2 separate regions of the Homo sapiens genome follow, and region 1 is linked to region 2. Evidence: promoter capture Hi-C in 16 types of primary human blood cells and fetal thymus (Javierre and others, 2016). All regions are on one chromosome and are shown on one strand. Each heading gives the region's core, a stretch centred on a gene start or on the middle of the fragment in contact. The rest is flanking DNA. Distances are from core to core; before and after follow the strand shown. Region 1 has its middle 89 kb from the start of PLSCR4. Region 2 holds the start of PLSCR5 (phospholipid scramblase family member 5).

Region 1 (4,815 bases), core at 1,957-4,456, 260 kb before region 2:
CTCTACTAAAAATACAAAAATTAGCTGAGTGTGGTGGCACACGCCTGTAGTCCCAGCTACTCGGGAGGCTGAGGCAGGAGAATCGCTCGAACCTGGGAAGTGGAGCTTGCAGTGAGCCGAGATCTAGCCACTGCACTCCAGCCTGGCGACAAAGAAAGACTCCATCTTAAAAAAACGAAAGAAAGAAAGAAAGAAAGAAAGAAAGAAAGAAAGAAAGAAAGAAAGAAAGAAAGAAAGAAAGAAAGAAGAAATTGAGACAGATACGGCTGTGTGAATGCCTGGGTCAAACTGGTCACATTTTCGGTGCAAGCCCTTGACAAGAGTAACTGCTATGCGGGGGCTGCAGACGACCTCGGGCACAGGTGGTTCTGTTTCCCTTAGGATGGAATACCAAGTTTTGACGGTCTGCTCTTTGTATAGTAGTCCATCCTAGCCATATTAACTTCCAGAAATGGGGCCAGCACATGTTTTCTTTTTAGATTTTTCTTAGAGTTAACTTTAAAGGAATGTGTTGCATGTTGGCTCCATACCACGACAAGGATGCATTGGGAAATAAGACTTGTAAGAGTCTGTCATTGTTCTTTTCCACATTGTGGAGGCCGGATCCCAGAGCAATCCCCTCATTCTCTACAGGGAATATAAACCACTCCTTTTACCTCTCTAGGCAGGGGGAAGAATTCAATAAGCCCATGGGAGAACTCTCGTCTTGTACCCACATCCTAAACATCACTGTTGAGTCAAGCAATGGCAATTACTCAGCTGTCCATATACCTCGGGCTGATGTCTGGTGGTACTGTGGGAAAAGGAACCTCCATAACCATCCAATTGGACTGGGACTTGTGCGTTAGTCCAGTTGGATATTCACTTCACCCTGGCATTCCATAAGATACTTGAAAATACACATGGCCACCCAAACTGGAGAGATTTAACAAATTCTTTTGATCTCAATACACATGTTGACTCGATAGGAGTCCCTAGGGCGGTGCCTAATGAATTTAAGTCCCAAAACCAAATAGTTGCTGGGTTTGAGTCACCACTGTTCTGGTGGTCAGCTATTAATAAGAATGTGGATTGGATTAACTACATGTATTATAATCAACAGAATCATCAATTATACTTGGGACACTCTCAAAAGGGGTAGCTAGCCAGTTAGATGCCACCAGCCAAATGGCCTGGGAAAATAGGCTTGCACTAAACATAATACTAGCAGATAAAGGAGACATATGTGTTATGCTGGGTGGGAAATGTACTTTCATTCCCAACAATACTAGGGACCAATTGTCCCTAGATGGGACCATCACAAAAGCTTTACAAGGAATGACAACTCTAGCCAACAAACTCGCAGAAAATGCTGGAATTGGTGACCCATTTATGGGTTGGCCAGAAAGTCGATTTGGAAAATGGAAAGCATGGTGCTTCAATCCTTACATCTCTCATAATTGTGGCAGGAATCTTAACAGAAGTGGGATGATGTATTATCCCTGTGTAAGGGGACTAGCACAGAGATTACTTGAAACACCTATTAATAAGCAAATGCCCATGACTTACCAGCAAAATAACTTTCTACTATTAGAAACTAAATTAAACTCACTCTCCTATGAAGAAGAAAGTAAATGGCTTCTAGAGTGATTCTAGGACCAGGAGGATTTAGATGAAAATGAGACCAGAGGAAGTAAATAGAAAAGCAGAGAGAATTTGAGAGAAAATATTTTAAATGGTCCATTTTCAAGGCATGATAAATCTAGCACTGGCAGCCAGCCTGCGGACGTAAAAAAGTGCATGGCTTCTGCTATTAGAAAGTCATGATAAATGAACAGAATGTTGAGGCGGGGTCAGCCCATAAAAGGGAAGAAAGTTTCGTTATTGGGAAATCACAACTTAAGCAGGGAAGGGGACTGGGGTATAACCTTATAAGGGGGATAATAAAACTTTGGTGACATCTGGGAAGATTATAACCCCATAGTAATTGACCAGTGAGGAACTGGGGGAGGGACTTGCATGCTAGGAGATAAATTAGTTGCTGTAGTTGCCCCGGATGTGCCTGCCTACCACTCGATCTTGCAAGACCGTTATTAAAACTCTTACTTTTGCTATTCTTTGTGCTTCTGAGTCCATTCTTCGGGTTTGGATGGGTGAGCGTGTTTCTCACAATAATCAAGTCTTGTCCTCATCATTTAGGGGTTCATATTTGAAATACATACAGACTTGAAAAACAAAAACCTAAAAATATAAATAAAAATAATCTTCAGTTGGTAACACTGCTGGGGCACCAGCAGAAGCAAAAGCAAACCTCTCTGAAGAGAGCACACTCTCAGACAAGACCTGCTTGGAGCCTCATGAGCTTCCAGCAATAATCCCAAACTTGAAAACACATGAATTTTCCTGAATATGATTTCCTCTATATAATTTCTGTATATAATTGTATACAAATCTTGTATACAGAAATCTCCTGTTTATAATTTCTTATGTACAATTTTTCTGTATTTTCATTCCCCTGTATGTCTGTGTTAATATATATTTTTAAATTTTTTTATTTTTTTGAGATGGAATTTCACTCTTGTTGCCCAGGCTGGAGTGCAATGGCACATTCTTGGCTCACTGCACTTTCTGCCTCCCCGGTTCAAGCAGTTCTCCTGCCTCAGTCTCCCAAGTAGCTGGGATTACAAGCATGCACCACCATGCCCAGCTAATTTTTGTATTTTTAGTAGAGATGGGGTTTCATCATGTTGGTCAGGCTGGTCTCAAACTCCTGACCTCAGGTGATCCACCCGCCTTGGCCTCCTAAAGTGCTAGGATTACAGGCATGAGCCACCATGTCCGGCCATCTGTGTTAATATTAATACATAGAGAAACCAAATATCACACAGAGATAAAAGAGTAACATGGCATAATGGTTTAGGGTGTAGCATCTAGGGCTGGCTTCAAACAGAAATATAGATAGCTTTATAAATAGATAGATAACTGAGTGGTCCTCATGCAAAATACCTCATCTAGTCTTCTCACCTCTACAATGGGAATTATCACAGTAATACATCTCATAGGCTTGCTACGAGAATTAAATGAGTTAATATACAAAAAGTAGTCAGAACCAGAACCACGCCGGCAATGTAGGAAGTAATAAAAAGGGACAGTTGTTCTTATAATTATCAGCATCACCATTATCATTACTATTATATATAACTGGTCATATTATCTCACCTATCTCATAATTAGGTAGATTTTTCTTCATACATGCCCAGATACATATCCATCTGGCAAGGAATTAAATCTTCAGGTAAACCAAGCTAGACACATCTCAAAATTACATGATTTCACATTACTGGCTTTTTTGCTAAGAAGCAGCAAAACTAAGATCTATGGTAAAATTTAATGTGCAAACATTAAGCTAACTAATTACAGTATATGTTTTGAGAAATTTACTGTTTACTCTTTGTTCTTATATGTAGGTTTTCAAAGTAAATTATTTACTTTATAAATATGTTTATGTTGCTGTACACATAGTTTGATTCCTCAGAATTCAGAACATGTCATTTGAATATATATTCTAACATATATACATGATTGAGTGAAGTGAATACGGCTTTTACCTCAGAAATGGTGCATCATGCTTATCCCAGCCCTAGAACATTTCCTACCCCTCACTTAGACATCAGTTGACTCTGACCACCAGCCCACTCATGGCAACTAGGAAAACAGGGTTAGGACATCAGCTTGCCTCACCAGGTTATCTGTGTTGTGGTGGTGGATGCAGAAATCTGAACGGCTGCTGAAATTACACAGAACTAAATATACACAGTCAAACATGAATACAAGTAAAACTGAAGAAATAAGAATAAAATCTGAATAATATTTGAGATAAATGTTCTATAAATTGGGTAAGTTTGTAATTTTGATTATCTTTTCTGCATCATAGCTTTTTTAATTTGGAAGGCTGCACTAAAAGGATTTGAGAAGACAATGCAAGTCATGAATATGAAGAAAAATTCCTAGTATAGTTAAAAGAATGAAGGATACAGGTGAAGATTCATCTCAAATATAAGGCTGTTATGATTAAAACATAATGATAGGGGAGTAAGATATCTAAGAACAACAACTAACGTTCTTTGAGTACTAGACTATCTGCCAGGTGCTGTCCTAAGCATGTAACATTAATTTACTACTTAAATCTCAAAAACTCCTATGTGATATGTACTATATCATCTCTATTTTACAATGGAGGAAATCAAAGAAAAGAGGATATTGTAATACATTGAGATTAGTAAATACTGGTACTTAATATGTCTTTTAATATCCCAGTAAACCTATGGGGTATTGTTATGCATATTTTATGTACCAGAAGATTGAAGCCCAAATCGGTTAAGTAAATTGTACAAATTTAAGTAGGTGTCATATCTAGAATTTAAACTCTGGTTGGCTGCTCCAAAACCGCTTTTCTTTTTACTATGGTAAAAGATGTTCCTAGAATGATGCAGGTTATATAAGAGTAACCAGCTTGTAATGCAGCACATCTCCATTGAAATTCTGGCACAGTCAAGTGTAATACCTTCTCAGGCACTTAATCGTTTTCAGCCACTCTTTCTTTCTCTGTAGAAAGGTGTGGGTTGTGGGGCCAGGCACGGTGGCTCACACCTGTAATCCCAGCACTTTGGGAGGCCAAGGCGGGTGGATCACAAAGTCAGGAGTTCGAGACCAGCCTGACCAATATGATGAAACCCTGTCTCTACTAAAAATACAAAAATAAGCCAGGTGTGGTGACGTGTGCCTGTAGTCCCAGCTACTCGGGAGACTGAGGCAGGAGAATCGCTTGAACCCGGG
Region 2 (4,675 bases), core at 303-2,802:
AGTAGTGTCAGTCTTAAATGAAAGGAAATATTTGTCAAGGTTTTTTGTTTATTTGTCTTCAGATAGAAAAAAATGACACATATGTTAAATTCATGATTTTGCTATTTCACATCTATGTTTTACAATTTGTGTGAGCTTTCTCAGTGATTCTGAGGGACTGAGGGACTGGTCTACATTAAAGATTGATAAAAAATGGAAAGATTATCTCATTTGTTTCATATTAAATAGTGACCAAAAGTGTGTTTTGATAAAGGAAGCAAGTAAGCATACACATTTGTTTGAATGGATCACTAATTTAGGATATTACAAATTGATGAGCCCTATTATCCTATTTGTAATTAATTTAAAAGGTTTTCACCAATTATACTAATTATAATTCTTCATGCTAAAACTTTTCATTATAGCCTAGGCTTTAGTGGTTCATTCTGACAATGAAATGAAAGCACATTATAATTTTATTTCTTACACAGTTTCACAAGTGTTTTTAGTGAGATTGCAACTTACTTTAAAAACAACTACATCTCTTGTCTTTTTAGACCTTCTTTAAAGTAAGATAACGTAATGATATTTTTGCAGTTTTAGGAATTTGAGAAAAAACTCATCAGTCCTACTCCCCAAAAGTCTGCTAAGTGATCTGTGCGCTTAAAGCAGATATTTTCTGTTTGTTTTCTATCTTTAATTTACCATAAGGAAATTTCAAGATATTTTTGCTTTATAATTCAGAAATACTTATTTCTAGCCCATCACATTTAAGAATCAATAATAACGCATGTCAGATTCTTTATAATAAATGGCTATATCACATAATTTGAATAACAAATGGGAAAATAAAACTTAGAGAGTGTAACTGGATTGTCTGTAACTCAAAGGCTGAATGCTTGATGGGATGGATATCCCATTCCCCTTTATGTCCTTAATTCACATTGCCTGCTTGTATGAAGACATCTCATGTATCCCATAAGTATATATACCTACTATGTACCCACATAAATTTTTAATATTTTAATTAAAAAAATTATTAAATTGCACTTTAACACTTTCTAACTTATGTGTGAAAAGTTTTCTTCAAATCCTTTTAAACTTAAAATATCACCCTGTCCTTGTGTTTAACATTGAAGATTCCCATTCTAAACTTTGCTATGCAGCTTTTCTTATTAATTCACTATGTTTGTATTCATGATAACTAAAACATCGTTTACATCTGAACTTTTACAGTCTGTCAGATAAAGTGTTTTTACATGTAACTCAACATGCTCCTGGGAGTTAAGATTTTAAAATCACAATGTTCAAAAGTGACAAATGACAGCTTTTAAAGTACCAATCTAACTGGTTGTAACACATCCACAATTGTATATTTTTAGTCTTAATATAAGAAAAAGTTATTAGTTGGTTATATTTACTCTTACCTTTAGAGGCCATGAAGATGTCTGAGTCACTTCTTCAAAGGTTGCCAGGTTGGAAAACAAAGGCTTTTCTTGTTGCAGCAAGGAGAGAAAACGCAGCATGCACAAAACTTCAGAACGTGTTTGTCTGCCTCTTGTCAGCTTACATATAACAGAGGAAGGGAGTCCCTTGCTGTTTCTAGACTTCTGGACTTTATCAGTTTGGACAACAGAGTGAGATGAAACTGTCACAAAAGTAAACGCTGTTCAGAAACCATCATATAACTTTGGTGGCTGAAGGAACAATTTAAAAATAATAAAAACCAGAAAGGAAAGCACACAGCACTCATTTTAAGTGTCTTTTTTTTTTTTACCAAGTTGTTTTTGTATTTCTTAGAATATACACATTTGCATTCAGTCTTATATCAGAAATATCCTGTATTTCTCAATTTCTAGAAGTCTCCTTTCCAGATTCTGTGATAAAACATCCTATTGTATAAATTTTTGATAGTTCTAAATACAATTCTTTACATGTTGAAAATGTTTGAACATTATTATTGTTATTTTTCTATTGGATTTATCTCCATCTCTTCAACTCAAAATAAATAAGAAGAGGATATATTCCCTACTATTATATAAATAAATCTTTATTTTCATTTTTAATTGAATTTGATTAATCAGAGGCATTGGAATATACAAACCTTCAATAGCCTTGCAAAGCTAATCAAAATTTACAGATGATATTTAACTGCATTGAATTCTAAGGAAAGAAAACAAGTGCTGTAACCTTGACTGGACAGCTCCTATTTCTAAATGCAGCTACCCAGGTGACCATGGAGATTTTGCTCACCAAGTCAATTGCCCTACATGGTATGATTCACAAAGGTTGAACATGCAGGATATATTGCATTATCAGCAACACTGTCTTTTTCTGAAAATAGTTAAGAGGCTTCAGGAGGTATACCTTGTGATGAAAAATTATAAAGTCAACCTCACAGTTTGCAGACTGCCAAAAGTTTGAGTTTTCCTTATTTGACAAAGAGGAGTGGTTTTGTTGTTGTAGTTTTCTTAGTGTTTGGAGTTGAAAAAAGCTACCATTATTTAAGTTGTCGTTTTGCAGAAAAGATGTGTGAATATGATTAATATTTTTAAATTAAACTGTATGTTTCCTAAGTTTTTTCTAATGTTTGTCGTGAGCATTTAGAAAAACTTTAATACAAAAAATTAAGTTATTAACACTATCAAAGAAGATTAAAAAAATTTTTTTTATTATACTCTAAGTTCTACGGTACATGTGCACAACGTGCAGGTTTGTTACATATGTATACATCTGCCATGTTGGTGTGCTGCACCCATTAACTCATCATTTACATTAGGTACATCTCCTAATGCTATCCCTCCCCTCTCCCCCCACCCCACAACAGGCCCCGGTGTGTGATGTTCCCCTTCCTGTGTCCATGTGTTCTCACTGTTCAATTCCCACCTGTGAGTGAGAACATGCGATGTTTGGTTTTCGGTCCTTGCGATAGTTTGCTGAGAATGATGGTTTCCAGCTTCATCCATATCCCTACAAAGGACATGTACTCATCATTTTTTATGGCTGCATAGTATTCCATGGTGCATATGTGCCACATTTTCTTAATCCAGTCTATCATTGTTGGACATTTGGGTTGGTTCCAAGTCTTTGTATTGTGAGTAGTGCGCAATAAACATACGTGTGCATGTGTCTTTGCTCAGCAAAAGGAACTACCATCAGAGTGAACAGGCAACCTACAGGATGGGAGAAAATTTTTGCAATCTACTCATCTGACAAAGGGCTAATGTCCAGAATCTACAAAGAACTCAAACAAATTTACAAGAAAAAAACAAGCAACCCCATCAAAAAGTGGGTGAAGGATATGAACAGACACTTCTCAAAAGAAGACATTTACGCAGCCAACAGACACATGAAAAAATGCTCATCATCACTGGTCATCAGAGAAATGCAAATTGAAACCACAATGAGATATCATCTCACACCAGTTAGAATGGTGATCATTAAAAAGTCAGGAAACAACAGGTGCTGGAGAGGATGTGGAGAAATAAGAACACTTTTACACTGTTGGTGGGACTGTAAACTAGTTCAACCATTGTGGAAGACAGTGTGGCAATTCCTCAGGGATCTAGAACTAGAAATACCATTTGACCCAGCCATCCCATTACTGGGTATATACCTAAAGGAATATAAATCATGCTGCTATCAAACAAGATGTTTTGAAATGTGGTCAGAATTCACCAGTTAATTTTGACTGCCCTACACAGCACAAATTTTGGAATAAAAATAAAAATCTTAGTGAATTAAACATATTTGTGAACTCTCCAAAGACAACCATATATGACTTGGGCATATGATGACATGGGCATATGACTGACTGATGGGATCTTTTAATATTTAATCTGCAGTGGAGGCTTTTCAGATCATCGAACCTGGTAATGCTACTGGTGAGGTATACTCAATGCATTTTTCTTCCCTTATGCACTCTCCCTGTCTTGCCAAAGACAATACCAATGTTTTTTTTCTTTTTAAAGGCTAAGTGTTTGCCAACCTGAGATCTCCCTTTTGTTCATTCCTTTCTTTTTCTCAGCTTTTCTCAAGGAGAGGCTCACAAAACTCTGTTTAATAGGACTCTCACATGTTTCAAGTGTCCTAACACTGTGTGTTCACGCAGCCAGGAGATGCTGCTCCACAAGCTGGCCTCTCTCCTGTTGCTATTGCTGCTGCCATTCAACTTCACCTTCATAGTACTCAGTGCTCTTCTCCTAACACCTGCTGCCTTCCTAGAAGAACGATGGTCATACCATCCTCTTGGCTCTGTGCCATGAAGCCCTTGACCTTTTCAAGAAGCATCAGTTTGACTTTGCCACCAGCCTGCAGTTTTTATGGCCCACTCACTTGATTCCAACCCAAGGTGGGCATGTCTAACACAGTACTGAAGACTTGAGATCACATCGAGGGCATTGCTGTAAGAAACAGGAAACTTGAACACGAATATCAGAAACCATAGGGTGAATGGGCTTTGCCTCTTCCCAGGAAACTCCCTATTGGTCATCGCTCTCTCCTGAGCCACTGGTTTGCTGCTCTGCTGCATGGGCTTGCTCATTTACTCAGGATGATCTGCCTTTCTGGTCCTGTACCTCCTGAAACAAGAGGAGCCTCATATATCCCCCCTTTTCTTCCATTCCAGCCAAAAGGAAATGGAAACAAATTGCACCATAATTGCTGCACAATTACCTTCTGCCCATAGACTATTTTC

What was found. Contacts are between HindIII fragments. The CHiCAGO score rates a contact against its expected background, and 5 or more counts as called.
Region 1: a fragment that was not itself captured here is called in contact with the fragment with the promoter of PLSCR5 in region 2 in 1 of 17 cell types (monocytes); the score reaches 5.2 in monocytes.

What each region holds. Positions count from the first base shown.
Region 1 is chr3:146,337,667-146,342,481 of GRCh38, forward strand. No RefSeq gene overlaps it. Among named protein-coding and RNA genes, the nearest start is that of PLSCR4, 89 kb to the left of the region's middle. The HindIII fragment of the contact is 3,805 bases long and covers 1,305-4,815 here.
Region 2 is chr3:146,603,794-146,608,468 of GRCh38, forward strand. It overlaps PLSCR5 (phospholipid scramblase family member 5), which reads right to left and starts at 1,553. Exons shown (of 8, transcript NM_001085420.2): 1 at 1,407-1,553. The coding sequence starts at 1,419. The HindIII fragment of the contact is 8,012 bases long and covers 1-4,675 here.